2 separate regions of the Homo sapiens genome follow, and region 2 is linked to region 1. The links are contacts of gene promoters, found by promoter capture Hi-C in blood cells and fetal thymus (Javierre and others, 2016). All regions are on one chromosome and are shown on one strand. Each heading gives the region's core, a stretch centred on a gene start or on the middle of the fragment in contact. The rest is flanking DNA. Distances are from core to core; before and after follow the strand shown.

What was found. The method cuts DNA at HindIII sites, captures the fragments that hold promoters and counts their contacts. A CHiCAGO score of 5 or more calls a contact.
Region 2: a fragment that was not itself captured here is called in contact with the fragment with the promoter of FAXDC2 in region 1 in 6 of 17 cell types (neutrophils, total CD4 T cells, fetal thymus and 3 more); the score reaches 6.5 in neutrophils.

Annotation. Positions count from the first base shown.
Region 1 is chr5:154,848,472-154,852,893 of GRCh38, forward strand. It overlaps FAXDC2 (fatty acid hydroxylase domain containing 2), which reads right to left and starts at 2,132. Exons shown (of 9, transcript NM_032385.5): 1 at 2,012-2,132. The HindIII fragment of the contact is 21,500 bases long and covers 1-4,422 here.
Region 2 is chr5:154,733,806-154,738,279 of GRCh38, forward strand. It overlaps a transcript of LARP1 not described here. Among named protein-coding and RNA genes, the nearest start is that of LARP1, 19 kb to the right of the region's middle. The HindIII fragment of the contact is 2,192 bases long and covers 511-2,702 here.

The DNA.
Region 1 (4,422 bases), core at 882-3,381:
CCCTTACTTCAGCCTCTGCTCTCAGACTGTATGCTAGGAAAAAGCTGAGCAGTCGACCTCCAGGGCTGAGGAGACTGACCTGTAATGTAATTACACAGTTTAAAGCCTCTGGTGAAGAGGGTTTTGAGGAGCTGCTATGACTCAACATCTGTACTAATCTGAGGCTTATATAGAAGATAGAGTGGCCGATATTCATTTAAGAAGATGAAATGCGGCCAGGAGCGGTGGCTCGCATCTGTAATCCCAGCACTTTGGGAGGCCGAGGTGGGCAGATCACCTGAGGTCAGGAGTTTGAGACCAGCCTGGCCAACATGGCGAAACTCCGTCTCTACTAAAAATATAAAAATTAGCCGGGTGTGGTGGTGCACGCCTGTAATCCCAGCTGCTCTGGAGGCTGAGACAGGAGAATCGCTTGAACCTGGGAGGCGGAGGTTGCAGTGAGCCAAGATCATGCCACTGCACTCCAGCCTGGGCGCCAGAGCAAGAGTCTGTCTCAAAAAAACAAAAAAAAACAAAGATGAAATGCGGCTGGGCACGTTGGCTTATGCCTGTAATCTCATAACTTTGGGAGGCCGAGGTGGGTAGATCACCTGAGGTCAGGAGTTGGAGACCAGCCTGGCCAACATGGTGAAACCCCATCTCTACTAAAAATACGAAAATTAGCTGGGTGTGGTGGCGGGCACCTGTAATCCCAGCTACTTGGGGGGCTGAGGCAGGAGAATCTCTTGAACCCAGGAGGTGGAGGTTGCAGTGAGCTGAAATCGCGCCACTGTACTCCAGCCTGGGTGACAGAACGAGATTCCATCTCAAAAAACAAAAAAAACAAAAACAGAAGATGAAATGCATGAAAGGAAAGGTTAAAAATGATTCCCATGGGCCAGTTTTAGTAATACTCTCTTCACTCCTTTTGCTGCATGGTACTTGCACCCTTTGAGCTTACTGTTCTGCTTGATTGCATGTCCATGAGGCCGAGAATCTGCCTGTCTTGTTTACCACGAGATCCACAGAATCAAGCCCAAGCCTGGCATGTAGAAGATACTCAAGAAAGATTTGCCGAATAAATAAGAGATACACGAATCAAAAGCATTGCTTTTTGCCCTCAAAAAGTGTTCAACATTTGCTATGGAACATTTTAGCACCATTCCCTTGTGCTAATTACTTTCGTAACTAAAGTTAGAAGCTGATGCTCAGTGCATCTGTGTTTTAGCAAATTGAATTGAATCTGTATATCCCACTCAAAGAAATTTAATTGGAATTGCACATGAAACTGAAGCAACCCACAAATCAGCATCTTGTCTTGCTTGCCTTAAGCCCCAGAAGGTCCTGAAAGCCACTGTTCTATTGTTCATCTCCACCTACACACTTTACTGTATGCCCTTTACTCAATAACCTTCGTGGAGTGTTTCCATAGGTACTATCAAGCCACTAACGATTTCACAACTGGAGCCACTGTTGGTAAATCCAAGTATGTTGCATCAAAACAGTTTCAACCTACTTGTCTAGCTCATAGCCCACACATCTATCCAGAGACTTTAAAACTGTTGTATTTTGCCCCATACCTTCCTGGTGATGGCAGAGTAGAGATGAGAAGCAATTAGGCAGCAGTTGCTTCCCAACAGTCTCTTCCAGTTTGTTCTGCCTCTCATTTGAGTTCTGAATTAGGAGTTGCTCCTTTACAAATGGTTTTAAAGTCAAACAATTACTTGTCCATTACAATCACCTGTCAATTGCTAGAAAAATTAGACTACTGAGGAGGTAGATGGTACAAACACAGGCAGAGGATACAGACATTAGTAAGAGACAAGGAGGCGACTGCACTACAGCAATGTCCTAGGACAAATTCTAACCCTGCCATCTAACCCTGTTTAGAGGCAAATCTAACCCTGCCATAAGTAGAGAGGACAGGGTGGTGGCAGAGGTGGGAAGAGTGTTGTTTTGCCCTTACTTTAAGTGAACCTGGACATGTCCTGACCTTTGCAAACACCACCCCTCCCCCGTAGTTCCCACTTACCTCTGCAGTGGGCTGTGTCCAAGCTGCTGAGGTCCTTGCACAGGTCAAATCTAAGTTCTCTTCCCTTTCAGCCCCCGCTTTGGTGGCTGTTGCTGCTGCGGCTCTGCTGCAGGCTAACCTTGTTTTTGCTCGGGTGGGAGGCTGGCCATGGTGATCTCATTACAGAGCTGCGTACTGGCTCGGACCAGGCACGTGATGAAAAAAGTTTGGGTCTGTGTGGGCTGGAAACAAAACACCCTTCTTTCCAGAGGGCATGTCCTTAAAGCGGAAAGGGAATCTAAGCTCAAGCAGGAACTTGAAAAACGTGCATTTGGCCAAACTCTGGGCTTCCCTCCCCCTGCCCCCTTTTTTTCTTTTAAAAAATTTTCTCCATCATCTGCAACTTAAGAAAATGTCGCTGTCCCATAGGAGGAGGCAGATTCAAGAAAAGATGTGGGTGTCAGATAATGGCAGGTAGTACAAGTTGATAAAAAGGTGACAGAGACCAGAGGATCTCATTTTCTTTTTTTTCATTGCTTCTTTTCCTGTGGAGGGCAGGCAAGGGAGGAGAGATGCATCAGCTATTTCTAGTGAGTCTAGATGCAGGAAAGGCATGCCTGTGGAGGGTAAATTTGCACTGTGATTGAAATAGGGGAACTTAGGATACAGGACCCATGACATGAAGTGAGGAGCACTTTGGAAAAAGAGCTGCTTTTAAATTTCTGAAAACTTTTTAAATAAGCAAATGTGCAAATGATATAAAATACAATAGGGTCAAAAGAATGTACAATGAAAAGTCTTTTTTTAATTTCTCCTCAGTCCCCTTTTTTTCCTCCCAAGAGACAACCTCTGTGACCAGATTTTTGTATATCCTTCCAGAGCTTACCTCTGTAAATAGAAACATGTGTAGGCCTTGTGCTTCTCCTTTAGCAACAGCACCATAGTATGTTTGTTGTGCACCTTGCTTTTTCCACTTAACAATCAAACATGGAGATTGGCTAGGCATGGTGGTGCTCACCTGTAGTCCCAACTATTTGGGAGGCTGAGGTTGGAGGATCACTTGAGCCCAGGTATTTGAGACCAGCCTGGGCAGCACAGGAAGACTCCTTTCTAAAATAAACAAAACTCAGAAACTTGGCTGGGCACGGCGGCTCACATGTATAATCTCAGCACTTTGGAAGACCAAGACGGGAGGATCACTTGAGGCCAGGAGTTCAAGACCAGCCTGGGCAATGTAGCAAAACCCCATTTCTACTACATATACAAAAAATTAGTAGAGCTTACTGGCACATGTCTGTTATCCCAGCTACTGGGGAGGCTGAGGTGGGAGGATGGCTTGAGCCCAGGAGTTGGAGGCTGCAGTGAGCTATGATTGTGCCCTGCACTCCAACCTGAGTGACAGAGTGGGACCCTGTCTCTAAAAAACAAAACAAAATAAAAAATGCCGGGTGCAGTGGCTCATGCCTGTAATCTCAGCAATCTTTGGAAGGCTGAGGCAGGAGGATTTCTTTTTTTTATTTTTTGAGATGGAGTCTTGCTCTGTCACCCAGGCTGGAGTGCAATGGCATGATCACAGCTAACTGCAACCTCCGCCTCCTGGGTTCAAGCGATTCTTCTGCCTCAGCCTCCCGAGTAGCTGGGACTACAGGTGTGCGCTGCCAGGCCCGGCTAATTTTTGTATTTTTTTTTTTTAGTAGAGATGAGGTTTCACCATATTGGCCAGGCTGGTCTTAAACTCCTGACCTCATAATCTGCCCACCTCAGCCTCCCAAAGTGCTGGGATTACAGGCATGAGCCACCACCGTGCCTGGCCTGGCAGGAGAATTTCTTAAGCCCAGGAGTTAGAGACCAGCCTGGGCAACATAATGAGGCCCTGTCTCTAAAATAAATAAAACTGTCAACAACAAAACATGGAGACTGCTCCATATAGTACCCTTAAGAGCTGCCATGTTCTGTTTAATGGCTGCCTCCCGTCCCATTGTATAGATGTGTCATACTTTATTTGGCCAATAAAGGACCATGTCTTCCTCATTTTCCTTGCCTAATTCGTTGCACAAAGCAAGGGCTCAGTAAACATTCAATGCTTGCTCACAAATTAATTACATTTTGTACAACTTGTTCATGTTTTTCCTCATCTCTCCTTTCAGAGATACTAATTTTTTTCAATATTCCAGATATTGCAGAATGTCTATATTTTCCAGCTGACCAAGTCTATCTTGTGCACTGAACAAACCTGTGCTACCAGACTTCCAAGACTCACTTTAGTTTGGCTCCTCTCAGATGATATTATTTCCTATTCCCTCCTACTTTCTATTTTTTAATTTTTTTATTTTTATTTTTGAGATGGAGTCTCATTCTGTTGCCCAGGCTAGAGTGTAGTAGCACAATCTCGGCTCACTGCAACCTCCGCCTCCTGGGTTTAAGCGATTCTC
Region 2 (4,474 bases), core at 357-2,856, 120 kb before region 1:
GCCCACCTCGGCCTCTTAAAGTGGTGGGATTACAGATGTGAGCCACCGTGCCTGGCCATAACCTCTATTTTTTTGTCTGTAGAAAGAGTTTTAATAATAGTACCTAACTCAGCACTTTGGGAGGCGGAGGCGGGTGGATCACCTGAGTTCGGGAGATCGAGACCATCCTGGCTAACATGGTGAAACCCTGTCTCTACTAAAAATATAAAAAATTAGCCAGGCATGGTGGCACATGCCTGTAATCCCAGCTTCTTGGGAGGCTGAGGCAGGAGAATCACTTGAACCTGGGAGGCAGAGGTTGCAGTGAGCCGAGATCACGCTATTGTACTCCAGCCTGGGCAACAAAAGTGAAACTCCCTCTCAAAAAAAAAAAAAATAGTACCTACCTCAAAAGGTTAATATGTGAGATAATTCATGACGAGCACAAGTATCTTGCACTACATAGGAAGTATTACTATTATTATATTGAGATTAATTATTAGCATTGATTTCAAATTATATACAAAATAAAGCTTCAAAAACATGAAGTCAACTTATGTCAGTTTTGTGGACATCAAGACAGAGGCTGAAATAGGATGAATTTTAATTGTTTTAATAAGTAACAAAATGTTCCCTAAAAAAAGTTACAGAGTACAGATTAGCAAAAGGGACAAAATCAGCACTCAGAAATAACCACTGGTAATCTTTTGGTTTATGTCCTAATGATAATAATTTACATATATTAGAATAGAAAAGGACATTTGACAAAAATAGTATCACACTGAACAGGCTGTTTTGAAACCAGCTGTTTTTCAGTGAGTAAAGGGGGCGTATACAGGCAAATGTATTGTTTTGGTTTTGGGTTTTTTTAATTAAAAAAATTCCTTTTCTGGTAAGAGATACATAAAATTTACCATGTTAACCATCTTTAAGTGTACATTCAGTAGCGTTAAGTATATTCACGTTGTTGGAAACAGATTTCCAGAACTTTTTTATCTTGCTAAACTGAAACTCTGCACCCATTAAAAAACAACTTCCCTTTTCCCGCTCCCTCCAGGCCCTGGTAACCAGCATTCCACTTTCTGTTTCTATGAATTTGCTGACTTTAGATATCTCATATAAGTGGCATCATACAGTATTTGTTGTTTTGTGACTGGCTTATTTCATTTAGCATAATGTCTTCAAGTTTCATTCATGTTGCAACATATAACATGATTTCCTTCCTTTTTAAAGCTGAATAATATTCCATGGTATATATAATATATACCACATTTTGCTTGTCCGTGTATCCATCAATAGACATTTGGGTTGTTTCCATCTCTTAGCTATTGTGAATAGTACTGCTATGAACATAGGTGTACAAGTGGCTCTTTAGGACCCTGCTTTCAGGTCAAACGTGGTGGCTCATGCCTGTTATCCCAGCACTTTGGGAGGCCAAGGCGGGCAGGTCACCTGAGGTCAGGAGTTCAAGACCAGCCTGGCCAACATGGTGAAACCCCGTCTCTACTAAAAATACAAACATTAGCCAGGCGTGATGGGTGCCTGTAATCCCAGCTACTCGGGAGACTAAGGCAGTAGAACTGCTTGAACCTGGGAGGCGGAGGTTGCAGTGAGCTGAGATCGCACCACTCTCCTCCAAGCCTGGGTGACAGAGCGAGACTCTGTCTCAAAAAAAAAAGAGACCCTGCTTTCAAATCTTTTGGATATACACACAGAAGTGGGATTGCTGGATCATATGGTAGTTCCATTTTTATTTTTATTTTTATTTATTTATTTATTTATTTATTTATTTATTTTTTCTGAGATGGAGTTTCGCTCTTGTTGTCCAGGCTGGATTGTAGTGGCGTGATCTCGGCTCATTGAAACCTCCACCTCCAAGGTTCAAGCAATTCTCCTGCCTCAGCCTCCTGAGTAGCTGGGATTACAGGCACGTGCCACCATGCCCAGCTAATTTTTTTTGTATTTTTAGTAGAGACAGGTTTCGCCATGTTGGCCAGGCTGGTCTCAAACTCCTGACCTCAGGTGATCTGCCCGCCTTGGCCTCCTAAAGTGCTGGGATTACAGGCATGAGGCACTGCACCTGGCCAAGGTAGTTCCATTTTTAATTATTTTAAAAAGTTTTACATTTTTTGACTTTATTATTATTTCTAGAAATGGGAGTCATCACTCTGTCTACCCAGGCAAGAGTGCAGTGGCACCATCTTAGCTCACTGCAGCCTTTAATTCTTGGGCTTAAGTGATCCTTCTGCCTCAGCCTCTCAAGTAGCTGGGACTACAGGTGTTCGCCACCATACCCAGCTAAGTTTTTTAATTTTCTTTTTTTTTTTTTGAGATGGAGTCTTGCTTTTGTTGCCCAAGCTGGAGTGCAATGGCGTGATCTCGGCTCACTGTAACCTCTACCTCCCAGTTCAAGTGATTCTCCTGCTTCAGCCTCCCGAGTAGCTGGGATTACAGGCGTGTGCCACCACACCTGGCTAATTTTTGTAGTTTTAGTGGACACGGGGTTTCACTATGTTGGCCAGGCTGGTCTCGAGTGCCTGATATCAGGTAATCCACCTCCCTCAGCCTCCCAAAGTGCTGGGATTACAGGCATGAGCCACTGTGCCCAGCAAGTTTTTAAATTTTTTGTAGAAATGGGGTCTCACTATGTTGCTGAGGCTGGTCTCCAACTCCTGGCCTCAAGGGATCCTCCTACTTTGGCCTCCCAAAGTGCTTAGATTACAAGCTTGAGCCACACCCTGCCTGGCCTATTTTTATTTATTTATTTATTTATTTATTTATTTATTTATTTATTTATTTTAGACAGAGTCTCACTCTGTTGCCCAAGCTGGAGTGCAGTAGCATGATCTTGCCTCACTGCAACCTCTGCCTCCTGGGTTCAAGTGATTTTTCTCCCTTAGACTGCTGAGTAGCTGGGATTACAGGTATGTGCCATCACGTCTGGCTAATTTTTGTATTTTTAGTAGAGACAGGGTTTTACCATGTTGGCCAGGCTGGTTTCAAACTCCTGTCCTCATGTGATCAGCCCGCCTCAGCCTCCCAAAGTGCTGGGATTACAGATGTGAGCCACCATCCCTGGCCCTATTTTTAATTTTCTGAGGAACTTCCATATGGTTTTCCATGGTGGCTGCACCATTTTACATTTCCACCAACAGTACACAAAGCTTCCAGTTTCTACACATCCTTGCTAACTCTTGTTATTTTCTGGTTTGTTTTGATAGTAGCCATCCTAATGTGTGTGAGGTGAATAAATGTGTTGTTTTTTTGGTTTTTCAAGACAGAGTCTCCCTCTATCACCCAGGCTGGAGTGCAATGGCACAATCTCAGCTCACTGCAACCTCTGCCTCCCAGGTTCAAGTGATTTTCCTCCCTCAGCTTCCCAAGTAGCTGGGATTACAGGCGTGCACCACCACACCGTGCTAATTTTTGTATTTTTAGTAGAGACGGGGTTTCACCATGTTGGCCAGGATGGTCTCAAACTCCTGACCTCAAGTGATCTGCTTGCCTTGGCCTCCCAAAGTGCTGGGATTACAGGTGTGAGCCACCGTGCCTGGCCAATGTGTTGTTTTAATGCAATTCTAGGGGGAATGTTTAAAGTACTCAAAGGAACTAAACTTCCTTTTTGGTAATCTAGAAGCATGGAATTTTTCTCTTTTTTTTTTTTTTTTTTTTTTTGAGATGGAGTCTTGCTTCGTCACCCAGGCTGGAGTGCAGCGGTGAGATCTCAGCTCACTGCAACCTCCGCCTCCCGGGTTCAAGCAATTCTCCTGTCTCAGTCTCCCGAGTAGCTGGGACTACAGGCACATGCCACCACGCCGGCTAATTTTTTTGTATTTTTAGTAGAGACGGGATTTCACCTTGTTGGTCCGACTGGTCTCGAACTCCTAATTTGAAAGACAGTGATTAGTTCTGTAATGCTGCAGCAGGTCAACCCTTGGTACTTGTTTTCTCCTCAAAACTCTCTTCCCCAAGCTTCTGCCAAGTCTCTCTCTCTCTTTGATCTCCTCTGATATTCCCGGTTCCCCGCCCCTGCCCCTCCTTGTGAATGAGCTATCCTCATTGTTCCAGCTTTCCAGCTCTGCTCTAACCACCCCTCCTCAGCCCTCCCCTTCATAGTCCCTGAACATTCCCCTTGCTTCACTCACACTGCTGGGTCTGGAGAACTCTCAGATCTTGTCTTCATCTCCGGGCCCTCAGTTAACCTCCTCCAGGAACCTAAGGGACAATGGGAGGCCCCTTAGGTTCTGTGGGCCTCCCTAAGACAAACAGAATGGGTCAGAAGCACAGCACAGACACATCTAAGTCACACGCCCTCAGCTCCACGATCTGATGGACACAGACACAGTAGGTAAACCATGCGTGTGTGGGATACTGTTTGCTGCCATTCCCTAAGCAGTCTTGGATCCCAGAGGTGCATCTCACCACACTGAATATCACCTTATTGTAGAGCTAGCTGTACATTCCTTTTCTCACAACCTGAGCCCTACATGCCAGC